Linked DNA regions of Homo sapiens: all the other regions are linked to region 3. Evidence: promoter capture Hi-C in human tissues and cell types (Jung and others, 2019). All regions are on one chromosome and are shown on one strand. The core of a region is centred on a gene start or on the middle of the fragment in contact, and the rest is flanking DNA. Distances in the headings are between cores, read along the strand shown.

What was found. Contacts are between HindIII fragments. The study calls those that stand out against the background at their distance.
Region 1: a fragment that was not itself captured here is called in contact with the fragment with the promoter of GFRA1 in region 3 in 2 of the 25 tissues and cell types used here (hippocampus and mesendoderm cells).
Region 2: a contact is called between a fragment that was not itself captured here and the fragment with the promoter of GFRA1 in region 3, in 3 of the 25 tissues and cell types used here (aorta, dorsolateral prefrontal cortex and mesendoderm cells).
Region 4: a contact is called between a fragment that was not itself captured here and the fragment with the promoter of GFRA1 in region 3, in 2 of the 25 tissues and cell types used here (mesendoderm cells and thymus).

Annotation. Positions count from the first base shown.
Region 1 is chr10:116,131,822-116,134,895 of GRCh38, forward strand. The region is part of intron 5 of GFRA1 (GDNF family receptor alpha 1); the gene reads right to left. Among named protein-coding and RNA genes, the nearest start is that of SNORD158, 61 kb to the right of the region's middle. RefSeq lists a silencer at 917-1,211. The HindIII fragment of the contact is 5,383 bases long and covers 1-3,074 here.
Region 2 is chr10:116,081,839-116,085,019 of GRCh38, forward strand. The region is part of intron 9 of GFRA1 (GDNF family receptor alpha 1); the gene reads right to left. Among named protein-coding and RNA genes, the nearest start is that of SNORD158, 110 kb to the right of the region's middle. The HindIII fragment of the contact is 5,019 bases long and covers 1-3,181 here.
Region 3 is chr10:116,271,594-116,275,099 of GRCh38, forward strand. GFRA1 (GDNF family receptor alpha 1) reads right to left here and starts at 1,613. Exons shown (of 11, transcript NM_005264.8): 1 at 1,570-1,613; 2 at 397-682. The coding sequence starts at 436. It overlaps LOC107984273 (a long non-coding RNA gene), which reads left to right and starts at 2,416. Exons shown (of 2, transcript XR_001747598.2): 1 at 2,416-3,506. RefSeq lists an enhancer at 1,778-2,615 and a silencer at 1,824-2,118. The HindIII fragment of the contact is 12,805 bases long and covers 1-3,506 here.
Region 4 is chr10:116,102,983-116,106,471 of GRCh38, forward strand. The region is part of intron 6 of GFRA1 (GDNF family receptor alpha 1); the gene reads right to left. Among named protein-coding and RNA genes, the nearest start is that of SNORD158, 90 kb to the right of the region's middle. The HindIII fragment of the contact is 5,863 bases long and covers 1-3,489 here.

The DNA.
Region 1 (3,074 bases), core at 6-2,505, 140 kb before region 3:
ATGGCTTGTGTTGAACAGTTTGGGCCAAAACTCAGAGATAGTATGCTTAAGGTTTGTGCCTATGTAAACATTATCTCAAAAGGAAAAAAAAAAAAAAAAAAAAGGCCAGGCACAGTGGCTCATGCTTGTAATCCCAGCACTTTGGGAGGCTGACGTGGGAGGATTGCTTGAGACCAGAAGATCGAGACCAGCTTGAGCAATATAAGGAGGCACTGTCGCTACAAAAATATTTAAAAATCACCCAGGCATGGTGGCATGTGCCTGTAGTCCTAGCTACTCGGGAGGCTGAGGTGGGAGGATTACTTGAGCCCAGAAGGTCAAGGCTGCAGTGAGCCATGATCCACACCACTGCACTCCAGCCTGGGTGACAAGAGCGAAAGTGTGTCTCAAAGAACAAACAAACAAACAACAACAAAACACAAAAAGAAATAGCCTAAACAAATATTGAACACTGGTTAGTCATATGTGTGCTGAAGCGTTTAGGGGCAGTATATTCATAAATGAATTTTAAAAACTTAGAGGATGGACATATGGGCGCTCATACAGCACATTCAGATGTGAATATGGAATCCAGGTGCTGAGTATATATGCATTAACCATATTTTTTTTCCACTGTTCTGTATGTTCGAAAATGTTCATAATAAAATATTGGAAAAAATAAATTCATGCCTACCTTATTATTACTCTTTTCAAAAAGTTTCACATGGGCAATTGCGCACGGCACATGGGAAATCACTCTTGGCCCCTCCCCTCCTTTCGCCCGCTAACTTAGTCCCTCACAAATCCACCTCCAGCTCTCTCCGGGGCCCTGATACTGCGGATCCTACTGCAATGAAGTTAAAAATAAACACTGCTGAAATCACAGGATATATAAATTAGGGTTGAGTTTTCACCCGGTAAGAAGATTGATCCTCTATATCTATTGAATGGATCCCCCAGTGCACGAAAATACTACCTCAATGACTTGAGGGCACAGGGAGGAGAGGGGAGAATGATTCAATTTACACCCTTGGAGTCAAAGCCAGCCCTCCATCAGCTCACACACCGCACGGAGGATCAGGAGCCCGCCTGTGTTTTACGGTCTGGGCACAAGCGCCTTCTCGCCTGCGTGGGAAGGCTTCTGAACAGCTTTACTATAACTCTAACTGCCATCCTCTCCACAGCTCATTTTAGAGCTCAGCATTAAAATGTTGCTTTCCCCCCTCCCCTCCCCCTCTAATCTCTCCCTCCATCTGCTGTTATTCATTCTTTAACTTGGTAGAATGTCTGGGACGCTGTCTGAATGGGAAGTATTCTCAGAATGAACGCTGTTTACTAGAAATCCTTTTTTCTTGGGGGAGTGCATATGCGAGTGGGTTGTGCTCAGCTAATGTGCTCCTCTCCAGCCTCGGCTCTGTATTACCGAGAATGCCATTTAACCAGATTTTCACTTCAAATTCCACACAGCCATGTTGTCACTTTGCAGGTTACGTATTGCTTTCTTTACCATCATTCTAAGCCTCTCTGGCTGTGATCACATCTGGTGGTGACTTGTTTCTTGTTTTCTTGGCCATGGGAGGTATAACATTCATGGCAACCGAGGGTGAGATCCCAAAACCTAGGACAAAAAGGGTCAGGTGCTGCTGAAGGAGCCATGGATTAGGAGTGAGGAGCATCTGGGTTTTAAATGTGGTCCAATCATCTGAGCGTTTTCATACAAGTCAGCTTTCCCCCCATGGGCATCAGTTTCCCTATTTGTGAGATGATATATCTAAGGTCCCTTCAAGCCTTAAGGCTCTTTGATTTGATGGTTCTAATGTAATCTGCCTTTTCTGACTATAACGTCAAATATTTAGAATAAAATGTGGTGATGAGGGACAGAATGTAAAACCCCAGCCAGAGGGTCTATGCACTTGGAGGCGCTGGCCTCTCCGCGGTCTGCGGCTCCAAAGGAGTACATGGACCAATGATTTCAGCCCTGACCTGCAGGCAGAGCAAATGTAAAAGGTCCCTCCAACACAGCGAGATGTGGAAGTGTCAGGGATGAATTATGTCATGGGAGAAGCTTTCATATTCTAAATTCCTCTGGAGCAAGGAACTGCCTTTATCTCAAATACAATCCTCACACTGTCCCAAGTAAGAGGCTATCACTGTGGCCAGCAGCCCTGATTATTTACACTTAGAAAATGCCACCGTTATTGGCAAACACCAGGGCCAGCTAACCAGTTGAAACGATTCAGGATGAAACACAGATGCAAGCAACTAGAAATCTATTTCTATGGATTATGAGGTAGAATAAAACAGTAAATATATTAAAATCTGCATGGCCTGCAAGAGATATGATTTACGAAGCAAAAATTCACAAGACAATAAAAGAACGTTTGTTTGCACATGCTTGCCAATTTCTGGGTATCTTTCTGCCTTTCTTTTTAAGGCTGCAGAATTGAATTCACAACTTGTTTCCTCTTTTTCTTTCTGACTTGATTAATTACTATGTTAATATAACTACTGTTCTTCTTCTAATAGGCTCCCTCTAATGTGTTTTCCCAGAAAATTAAAAAATGGGTAAAAGATGCCAAATCTTCACAGGTGTAGGCAAACTTTTCTGCAAGCTCACAGTGACAGTCTGGGCTTCTGATATCCACACGGATCGTATGGCAAATTTGATCATACAGGTTGTGACCCTTGTAACTGATCCTTCAAGAGCTTGGCTTTTTCCAGCTAGGGTGCTAAAAATTACATTTAAAAAGCACATGTTGGCTGTTTGGAACCCATTTTGTCATTCGTACACTGTTTCAGACATATTGTATTACATGATGATGAAATTCCTCCTAGTTCTGTTTTTTCATACCTTACACAACTACATTAAGCTGCAAGCCATACCCAAGTTTTCTCTGGGGCTCACAGTGACTGAATTATTTTGAATACCTGTAAGTTTGGAAATAATTCTTTGGTCTGGTAAAGACAGTTCCCCTTGTTAACCACAAGTCATGGGCTAGCCTTATCCATTAGCGCTTCCATTTCCTTAACGCACATTCTGTCGCTTGCCTGCACCCTCTGCTGTGCAAACCTTAAAAAATTGGATATCTCCTGTA
Region 2 (3,181 bases), core at 244-2,743, 190 kb before region 3:
AATATTTATATATTGATTTTAATATAGAGAAAGCACATTGAACTCATGCTTTCACATATGTTAGTAACAGCTTCAGATGAGTCTCAAAGGCAGTAGTGTGCATATAAATAAGTATAGCTCATAATTGAATTTAAAGACAAAGATGAAGCAAATAATAGGATCAGTGGAGTGCAGATATGGCAAAGACTGCAAAGTCCTGGGATTTGAGGCTAAGAGGCAGGACTAGTTCTCAAATACCGTCTTTTCTGCAACCAAGAATGTTTCATGTTAACAACTGCATCACCTCTTCCTAATGTCAGCATTGGTTAAAGAGATGTGGCGGGGACCGTGGCAGCTAGTTCCACTCTGGTCACCAGGCTGGACCAAGATCTGACCAGAGTGGCAGCTCCAAGTCACAGCTCCAAGAGGCAGGTAAGTCAGATGAAGCTCCCAGGAGATGTGCGGAGAGATGGAATTTGGATCAGTTCTAATCCCTGAAGACCTAGTCCTTTTATTGCCTTTGGTTTCCCTTCCTTCTTGGCCTGGTGTCCAAAGAACATTCTCCCTCTTCCCCTCCTCCCTGGGACTTTCCACCAAGACCACATCTTAGAACTGGCAGGATATCATTCAGCTCAAACCGCCCCTTGCTTTTGTTTTTTTTGTTTTTTTTTTGAGACGGACTTTTGCTCTTGCTGCCCAGGCTAGAGTGCAAGAGCGTAATGGTGCGATCTTGGCTCACCACAACCTCCGCCTCCCGGATTCAAGCGATTCTCCTGCTTCAGCCTCCTGAGTAGCTGGGATTACAGGCATGTGCCACCATGCTGGCTAATTTTGTATTTTTAGTAGAGATGGGGTTTCTCCATGTTGGTCAGGCAGGTCTCAAACTCCTGACTTCAGGTGATCTGCCGCCTTGGCTTCCCAAAGTGCTGGGATTACAGGTGTGAGCCACCACACCCAGCCTCAAACCCTTCTTATTAATTAAGAAGACACAATACAATCTAAAGAGCTCCATCGTTCTTCCTCTGTGGCCCCCCTGCTCCTGAGAGCAGCTCTTCCTTTCTGGCCCCAGCCTCCTGTGTCAAAATCTCTAATGCATCTCACCAACCATGCCAATAGTGGAGGCCACTTCCCCCAGTCCAAGGGTCAGCCTGTTGTTGTGCCTGGCTCTTTGCATACTTGCACTGTTCTTTATCCCTCACAAAAAACCAAGAGCTCAGTGGTGTTTTACAGCAGAGATTCAGGGTAAAAACCAAGCAATAGTCATGGAGCCACAGGAGGCGAGCCAGGATTCTCACTCAGGTCCAACTAACTCCAAAGCTCAAGCTTTTCCCGGAAAACCAACTCTTAAACTGTTAACCATGGGTGAAAAGGAAAGTGCGGAAGAACTGCTCTCAGGGTTACTTCACCCTACTTGGAGGGGTGGGGTAAGGACAGGGGGTGAACCCCCTTCCCGGAGCCAGGAGTCTGGTGTGGAAATAAGCACCTCTCTTTCCTCGCTTCTATCTTCCCAGGCCTCCTCTCCTCCCAGTCTATCATCCTGTGCAAAATCCCAGCACCCTGGACTGGCTCTCAAGCGCCTCTTCTCTGGTGGAAGATTAACGGGCCGCCAAAGCATCCCATTGCTCTGCTAGCATAAATTGCAAGAAAAACATTTAGAATATTGATTAAGTGCTCCGTGCTAGAAGATTGAAATTTACCTCCTGTATTTCCAGGATTAGCTGACATAATGGGGTCAGTCTGCTGGCACAAATGATTTACAGAACACCCATTGGCAGCTTTCCTTTTAAAACTCGACACTTAAAATTTTCACTTGGTCACAGCCAGTGGAGTCCTGGGTATTTGGTAGGCTTGGATAATTGCCTTCCCACCGCATCTAGACTTTGGGGGTTTGCCCCCACAAAGAAGAGTTTTGAAATCATTTCTGGTCTGGTCTGGCCCCATCTGGAACAAATGGACTTTGGATCTGAGGAGATACTGGGGCCGTGGGGAGAGGGTGGAAGGGACCATCTAAATATAGATTATTTTCAATATTCAAATGCAGAAGATGTAGGAGTTAAACAGATTAGGTCTGCCCTCCATCCCTCCTGCCACTCTGCAAACATTAGGCTGCATCCTACAAGTACCTGTTTTCTAAGCTTGACACGACTCTGGGGAGATAAGGAAATGTATTGAGGCTTTGTTGGGAGGCTGGCAAGGTGTGAACCTAGGCTGAAATCCAGTGAATGTGGCAGGTTCTCTGCTCCAGGCAGATGCCCACCCCAAGGCCTCTGCCCCCACCCCACACAAAGAGGGGCCCACGGTGTCTCTACTGTGAACCCCTTAGGGCTAGCATGGTCTGATGGCCAGAGAAGACCAGGCAGCTACTGGTGGAGTGGTTGGGGGCAGGACGGCTGCCCTCTGCATGGTTGATTTTAACAGGAAGCATGCTTTCGAAGATTATCCACATGGACCCTTCATCTCTTTCATGACTAGGCAAGCTGCTTTGTGGTTTCCTTCTAGAATGCTGTTTTAAAAGTCCCACCAGGATGAGATCTGTCACACTGGTCCTCCATGTCTCACCCACAGATGTGTTTTATGTGACTCACAAAAGTAATCTCTAACTTTGAATGTGGCTTGTGCTGTTTACTGGAGCCTGTGCCAACTGCCCACAGCTATCCTCACCTACCCTGCTCGCCCTGGGGCTGAGCGTGTGCCCCACGGTCTGTCACGCATTTCCAGGGGCAAGGGGCTGAAGGAAGGCAGAGGCAGTGAAACCTTCTCAGGAGGCCTGAGTCCCAAGGCTATAGCTCCCAATCCTTGTTACTCTATTTGACCACAGAAATCAGAGGTCGACAAACACCACATTAAGATGTCTTCACTGTAAGACACCAGAGTTAAGCAGTGTACAATGATGCAAAATAGAGAATTTTTCTAACGTTCCAAAGATATTTACTTTAAATAAGTAACACACACACACACACACACACACACACACACACACACACACACACACACAGTCCATTTGGTTTAAATATCCTGAGCTTTTTCCAGCTACCAGACCACTCCAGTGCACGGAAGATGAAGTAATTGATAGGATTATTAATGTTTCTTTGTTTTCCATATGACCATTTCATATAAGTAAGTCGAAGGAATAGGCCAACAATAGCACAGCCTGTGCCATGCTTGTCACTAATATGACTGCCAATTAATCCTGAAATGGGAG
Region 3 (3,506 bases), core at 363-2,862:
CCCAGAAGCTACTCGGGAAAAACTTTTCTCTTCCAAGTTTGCTCTCCCGGCCCCAATGCTCCCCAACTCCACCTGCCCGCCGCGGCTCCGCGAGCTCCCAGAGACTCTCTGGGGGTGCAGGGCCCTGGGCTGGAGGGCTTCTTAGTCCCCCGCCAAGTTGGGTCATTAAAAACCACAGGAAATCAAAACCAAGCCCGAAAAGCTTCAGGCAGCGCCGCGCCGCCACCGCCTCCCTAACCCGGGGATTCGCGATCCCATTCCCCAAAAAGACACTTCTTCCTTCCACATCCACCACACCCGCGCCCCAATTTTGGTGCGGAGGGCGGGGTGGGCTGCTGCAAGCGACCCTAGGAAAGACTCAGAGGGTAAGAAAGCCCGCGGCGGGCCTCGACTTACCCAAGAGCGGCAGCGCGAAGTACAGGGTCGCCAGGAACATGGTGCCGGCGCGGGGCTGGTCCCCGCCCCCCCAAAAAAATCCCGAGCCGCCGCTGGGTCTTGCCGAGGGAGCTCAGCGTGCAGCGATCCCCGGACAGCTGTGCTGCTCTGGCCGCCCAAAGTTCAGCTCCATCCAGTGAAAGAGGAAACTCCGGGTCTGGCAGCAGCCACCGCCGCCGGCGACTCAGCTCCGGGATGGCGAGGGCGGGAGGCGGTTCCGCTTTTAGGGGTTCAGGTCCGACCCAACCTGGAAGGGAGGGCGCGCTTTGAGATGAGAGCGGAGAGCGCCGGAGACTCCCCCCACAGAACCCTCTCCCCTCCCCCGTTCCCGCCTTTGGGGAATTTCCAACACCGGGGTGAGGACCCACCCCCACCCAGGTCGGGGTGCATGTGCGTGTTTTCCAGGGGCCGCTGACACGGGGATGGAGGTGAGGGCTGGAGAGGTCTGAAGAGGGTTCCTAAAGTCCAAGGGGGTGTCTGTTGGGTTCAACCCGAGACGCTGAACGCAAGCAAATAAATAAATAAACGGTACTTTCCGAGCGTCGCGAGCGGAGCCTGCAGCTGCCTGGAGTCCGAGCCCTCGGTGGCGGCGGCGGCAGCTCCCTAGCCAGCCCTGGCGCCGAAAGAGCCCCTTCTCCCGGGAAGTTGGCCTCCCCCTCCTCGCGTCAGCCAGCGAGCTCGCTCAGCCGCCGGCCCTCCCCACTCCGATCGCCAATCCCTAGCCCCAGTCGCCGCCCTCCTTCTCCCCGGGACTCGTCTCCCTCCAGAGGCCGCCAAGCCAGGGGGAACCGATGTCCCGACTGGGGCTGAAACCCGGTTCCTGCGCCCCTACCCCCTACCCGCCGCGCGTCCTCGGCTCCCTCCTGGGCGTCCGCTCCTCTCACACTCTCGCCCGGTGCCCAGGACTCGGGCGCTTCCGCACCCCAGCCCAGGGCGAGCGCGCCGGCCCGCAGTCCCGGCGTGCCCCGGCAGGTGCAGCCCGGCGCCACGAGCGCCCCCCGGGCCCTAAAGTTGGGAGACGCCAGCAAAAAGAAAGGGGTGGCCGGAGGAGGGGGGAAGAAGGAGTGGGGAAGAGGGACGGGAAGCGGCAATGGGTTCCCAAACAGAACGAAAAAAACTCCAAATGCCACCAACCTGGACTCAACCGACCGCGTCCAGCTGCGGCGAGGAGCCAGTTTGTTTATTTACTTATTTATTCTTTCAGGGCAATGGTGTCCCCGCCCCCTCCTTCCCTTTCCGGGCTCACTTTATCTGCGCTAGGAAAAGAAAAAAAAGAAAAAAAAATAGATGCGGTAATCTTCGAGAGCTCGAAGGGCCGAGTTGGGCCAGGACGATTTCCGAGCAGAGCCCTCGGCTCGGATGCTCGTTAGGGATGTTAGTGGTTATTGGAAGCGGCGCGGAGAATGGCGTGTTCCGAGGCCAGATTTCTTCTGGCCAGAGGACCCTCGGCCTGCTCCTGTTCCCGCCGCTCCGCAGCTCCAGCTCCCTCCTAAGCTCGCCCGCCAGGCAGCCGCAGCTGCACACGCCCGCTTGCGGTGGGACCCGCGGCCGGACCCGTACTCGCGCACAGGACACGCAGTGTTCTGCAGCCGGCCGCGGGTGCTGCCAGACACACACACTCTCTCTCTCTCTCTCTCTCTCTGTCTCTCTCTCTCTCTCTCTCTCTCACACACACACACAGACACACACACACACATACACGGGCACAAGGGCTCTTTCTTCTTAGGGCAATCGAGCCAGACCCTTCTTCGGAACACAAAGTTTTCCCCCACGTCACTAGTGGCTGTGATTCAAGACTTGGTGCTTTCAAGACACACTCAGACCCAGGACGCTGGAGCGGCGATCCTGGGATGCGCCCATCCGTTCGTCCACGCCAGCGCGTGCACACTCACACTCACACGCACACATGCACACGCAGTCTCTACCTCTCTCCTGGAGCTCCGACAAGGAGACAAAAGCGGAGCCCCCAGCCCACTGCATTTAAACCCGGCCAGACCTGGCTTTAGAAAATTTATAAGCTGACCTCCATTTTGGCTGTTTCGAGAGTAAATTAACAACAACAAAAAAAGCCTAACATGTACACAGCCCTTCGCCCCAACCCCTGGGACCGCTGGTTCCCAGTCGTGCTGCTCACCCCCCGCCCCCCACGCCTGACACACGCTCCCCTTCCCGCACGCCGGGGGGCGCCCGGGGCACCGAAGTCTACACTGGGTCGGGAGACCGGTCTAGGAGCCAGCCGGCAGTGCTCGGGATCTTTGCTGATGTCCAAGTTCATCTCTCGGGGAGACCGAGTTTGAATCAAATCTGCGTGCGCCCAGCTGTCAAATCTGCAAACCTATCACGCCAGACAATGGGCCGCCGCGGAGGACAGACAAGAATGGCTCATTTTGATCGAGGGGGGTAAATTGAAAAGGGCACGGGCTTTGGTTGAAGTTTGAGGCCCGGGTGTCAGGGCGGGGAGAAGAAGAGGAGGAAGGAGGAGGGTTGGGCCGCTCTCCATTCAACCACACATCAGCCAGGCGCGCCCCTCGGCTGCAGCGGCTGCTTGCAGGCGGGCTGCATATTGTGTGGAGTCGCCAAAGAGGGTCTGCGCCTCGGGGCGCGCCCCAAACCCGGGGGACATCCTACGGATCCGCACTTCTCTTGTGCTGTACGCGTGTTCCTCCAGGGTAAGTATGAGGAGACGGACGCCCTCATCAGACACCCCTCCTCCAACACACACACACCCATAGCCACATCATTCAGGGATACTCTAGTTCAGTGTATCAGTTTACACTTGGTTGTTGAGTAAACAAAGCAAACATATGTCACATTTTCGCGACAGATGGTTCAAACCAAGGGCTACTTAAGTTCTCTCTCTCTAACAGTCTAAGTTACAGGCTGAACTAAGCAGAAATGTAATTAAGTCATCTGATCAGTTTCTTCGACTTAAAATGTTTTCCCATATTTTCACAAACAAGCCAGATAAATCCTGGGGATGTGGTTTCAAGGAAAGGAGGGCTGAATATGAACTAAGACTTTGTGTGAAGACTCCGTTTCTCCCCGGTCACCCCAAACAGAAAATCCTCTTT
Region 4 (3,489 bases), core at 813-3,312, 170 kb before region 3:
GCTTTCTCAGTGGGTCAGTTAGAGGAAAGAAAGTATGGTAGATAAGAAGATGCACAGGCTTGGGAGTGACACAATCTTGTGTCTAATCCCAGCTCCACTTTTCACGCAGCCTCTCACATCTTAGCAAATTATTCAACTTCTCCAAGTCTCAGTTTCCTTACCTGGAAAATGGCACCAGTGCTGTGGTGCCATACCAGTTGCTATGTACAGTCACTTTAAATGTCTGCTGTGAGACTTAAATGACAATTATATAAAGCTCCTCACCCAGAACCCAGAATACACCAGTTGCCCCCAAAATTTTTACTTCTATCCCTTCATATGTTCTCCCCAATTCCTGGTTCATTCTAATGTTCAGCCTTTGCTGGAAAAACACACAACAAGCTCAATAAAGAGAAACATACACTGTGTCTTAGTCTATCTTTGGTGGCCCTTATATTACATACTTTCAACATGCTACATCTATGTAACTAAAGGCATCAACTTTGACCAAAACAAATTTGAGAAGTCTGAAGTGAGGAATCTGTGGTGTTACTTAAAGCCTCTCTGTTACATGAACTCATAAAATAAAGGCACTTTAAGAAAAGCTACTTTTTCCCAGGGACTTAGAGCAAAGGGATATATTTTTAAAAGGACTAAATATCAGTAAGTTTGTTAAAACTGCTAATACCTTTTGCAGAATAAAAACAATTAGAAAAACATGCTGCTAATATTAGACCAGGAATGAAAAGGCTAAAACACTGGAAAGGTAATTGTCTGGTATAGTGACACAAAACAGATTTTTCCTCTTTCTGTTTTTAGAAAATTACCTTAGCCCCTATTCTCCCTCAGTCTGCTGTAACACACATCTGGAAAGCATCCTTCAGGAAACCAGGGCCTGTATTAAATACATTTTGCAGGGGGTGTTATTTTGTGTTGCTATTGCTGTCTGGGCTGTGCATCTGGCTTCCTGGAGCAAAGGCCTAGTATTTGCCTAGGAGTAGGCTACGGAGCTGCGGAGCTGGGGAGCTGAGGAGCTGAGCTGCGATTCTCTCCCCACCTAGGACTGAGTGTGGAGACGCAAAGGGTCTGGGGAGGTCCACATGCCCCAGGTGCAGATGCGCAAAGCTCTGTGCATCTTGCATTCATCAGCCCCTTAACACAGGTTCCCACTGGTAGTGGGATTATTAAAGCCTCGCCAACTGATGTGCGTATGGCAGTTTAGCAAGACAGCGGCCACATGTTGGTGAGAAACAATACCATAAGGTCTAAGCAGCCTTCAAGCCTTTCCTAATGCCTTTGTTTCCTGGGACAGAAAGGCCCCTGTGGCCAAGTACAGATCATTTCCTGCTCCCCTCAAATCCCTGCTCAGCCTCATCCTGATACATGGGGCTTCCCCGATCACTGTTGCTCCTCTGGCTCCTTGGCAGCTCTTGGCTGCGAGGGTTCTCCTTGTGGTTTGCCCAGCACATGGGCCATGGAGGCTGCTGTCACTGCACTCTGAGCCTGACTCACAGGGGCTCTGGCAAAGCTTCATGGGCTGAGAATGGAGTTCCGGCGATGCAGATGGAATCCCCCATTATTTCAGTCCCTGCGTCCTGCCTTGGGTATCTCTGCAGGTTGAGGGTTCAGCAAAAGCAGGCTGCAGGGCACAGAGGTGATGCTTCCTTAGCCTTTCTGATTGCATCAAACTGCAGTAGCCCCCCGAGGGAAGTCTAGGTTGGCATCTGATCAATTTTGGCATCCCTCCCGAAGCCACCTTGCATGAACATTGACAGCCATCAGTCAACATTGACAGAGCAGTTGACAGGGCTTGACAGGTACTCTCTACCTGGCAAATTTGAAAAGCAAGTCATGGTAGTTGGCAAGAAAATCCATTCCAACTTGCAAGGGGCTTTCAGCAGCCTTAGATCAGATGTCCCTGAACTGCCCTTTTGCCAGGAATCCACTGCCCTCCACCTATTTATCCCAATGCGCAAACTGATGGTCATGGTACAAGAAAACTCTAAGTAGTAATGGGAGCACAGAAAGATCTCCAACAACCCTGTGCTGCATCACGAAATCAAATAAAATTGTTTTATATTACCCATACTATGCTATGTCCATTCACACAGAAAACCTAGCTTTAGCTTTGGTAGTACTTGTTTTTAAGGGAAGAAATTGAAGAAGAAAAGAAATGGAAAGTTTTGTGGATGATGAAAGGATCATAAAGCTCTCAGATATTCAGTGGGATAACTGCAGGTGACAAATATGTTAAAACTCTTTAAGAGTAAACCTTATCCAATAAGTCTTTTATATTTCTGCAGGCAAACTTTAGAAATCAGTTTTGTGGCTTTTGGCCACAAGAAAAAATGGAAATCTAGATGTTCAATGAATCTTTCACCAGCAGAACCACACCTTAAAACTCTAGACCAACACAGTGTGAGCTTGCTTCATGGAGAATTCAGCAGCACCTCCACCTTCGGAAGTAAATGCCTGAAGTCGCCTGGTATTTATTCTGGAACGCTAAGAGGCTCCATGTCAACTGCTCAGGAATCCTGGGCAGCAAAGGTCATCCACCATGGCTTCATTTAATTATTTACGCACACCCTGTCTTCAGAAGGAATTTTGAAGTGCCTTCAGATGTAGCTGTGATGTGGCAGAATATAAAAATTAGTGAGAGAATTGGGGACCACAGAAAGGTAAGATAGAGGCAGTGGTTTAGCTAGTACAAAATGTACACATGCCCCTGGCTGGATGAAAACTACATATTTGGTTCAGAGATTTCCAGCAACCACTGGGAAGGGGGTTAAGATATTCATAACTAATTCCACAACTAGCTCATGATACCCCCAAATTAAAAACAAGATAGATGCTCAGAAGAAAAACTGCTTGCGGCAGGCAGAATGCCTACCTTTGGGTAGGCTCTCAAAGGCATCTGGACCTGAATTCCTAAAACCTGAGACCATTACAGTTCATGGCAAAATGGACTTTGCAGATATAATTATGGTCATGGATCTTGAGGTAGGGAGAGTATCCCGGATTTTCCCGGTAGGACCAATAGAATCACAGGAGTCTTTAAAAGTGGAATAGGGAGGCAAGTGAGGGTGTCATCGTGATGTCATGTGAGACTCCACCTGGCCCTTGCTGGTTCTGAAAATGGAGGAAGGGGCCATGAGCCTGCGTGGGGAAAGGCAAAGAAATGGATTCTCCTCTGCAGCCTCCAGAAAGAACTCAGCCCTGCTGACACCTTGATTTCAGCCCAGTGAGACCCGAGTCAGACTTCTGACCCTATAGATCAGTAAGAGAATAAATGTGTGTTGTTTGAAGTTTGTGGTAATTTGTTAACAGCACCAATAGAAAACTAAAAGACTACTAAAAAGCAGTAAACAGTAGGGGGTTTTCATACAGAACTTGAACATGTACTAGGACTTAAATTTCAGCTCAATCGCTTACTAGCCATGACATTCTGGGCAAGTATCTTAGCTTCTCTGAAGCCTAGTGATATAGTTCGGACGTGTGTCCCCACCCAAA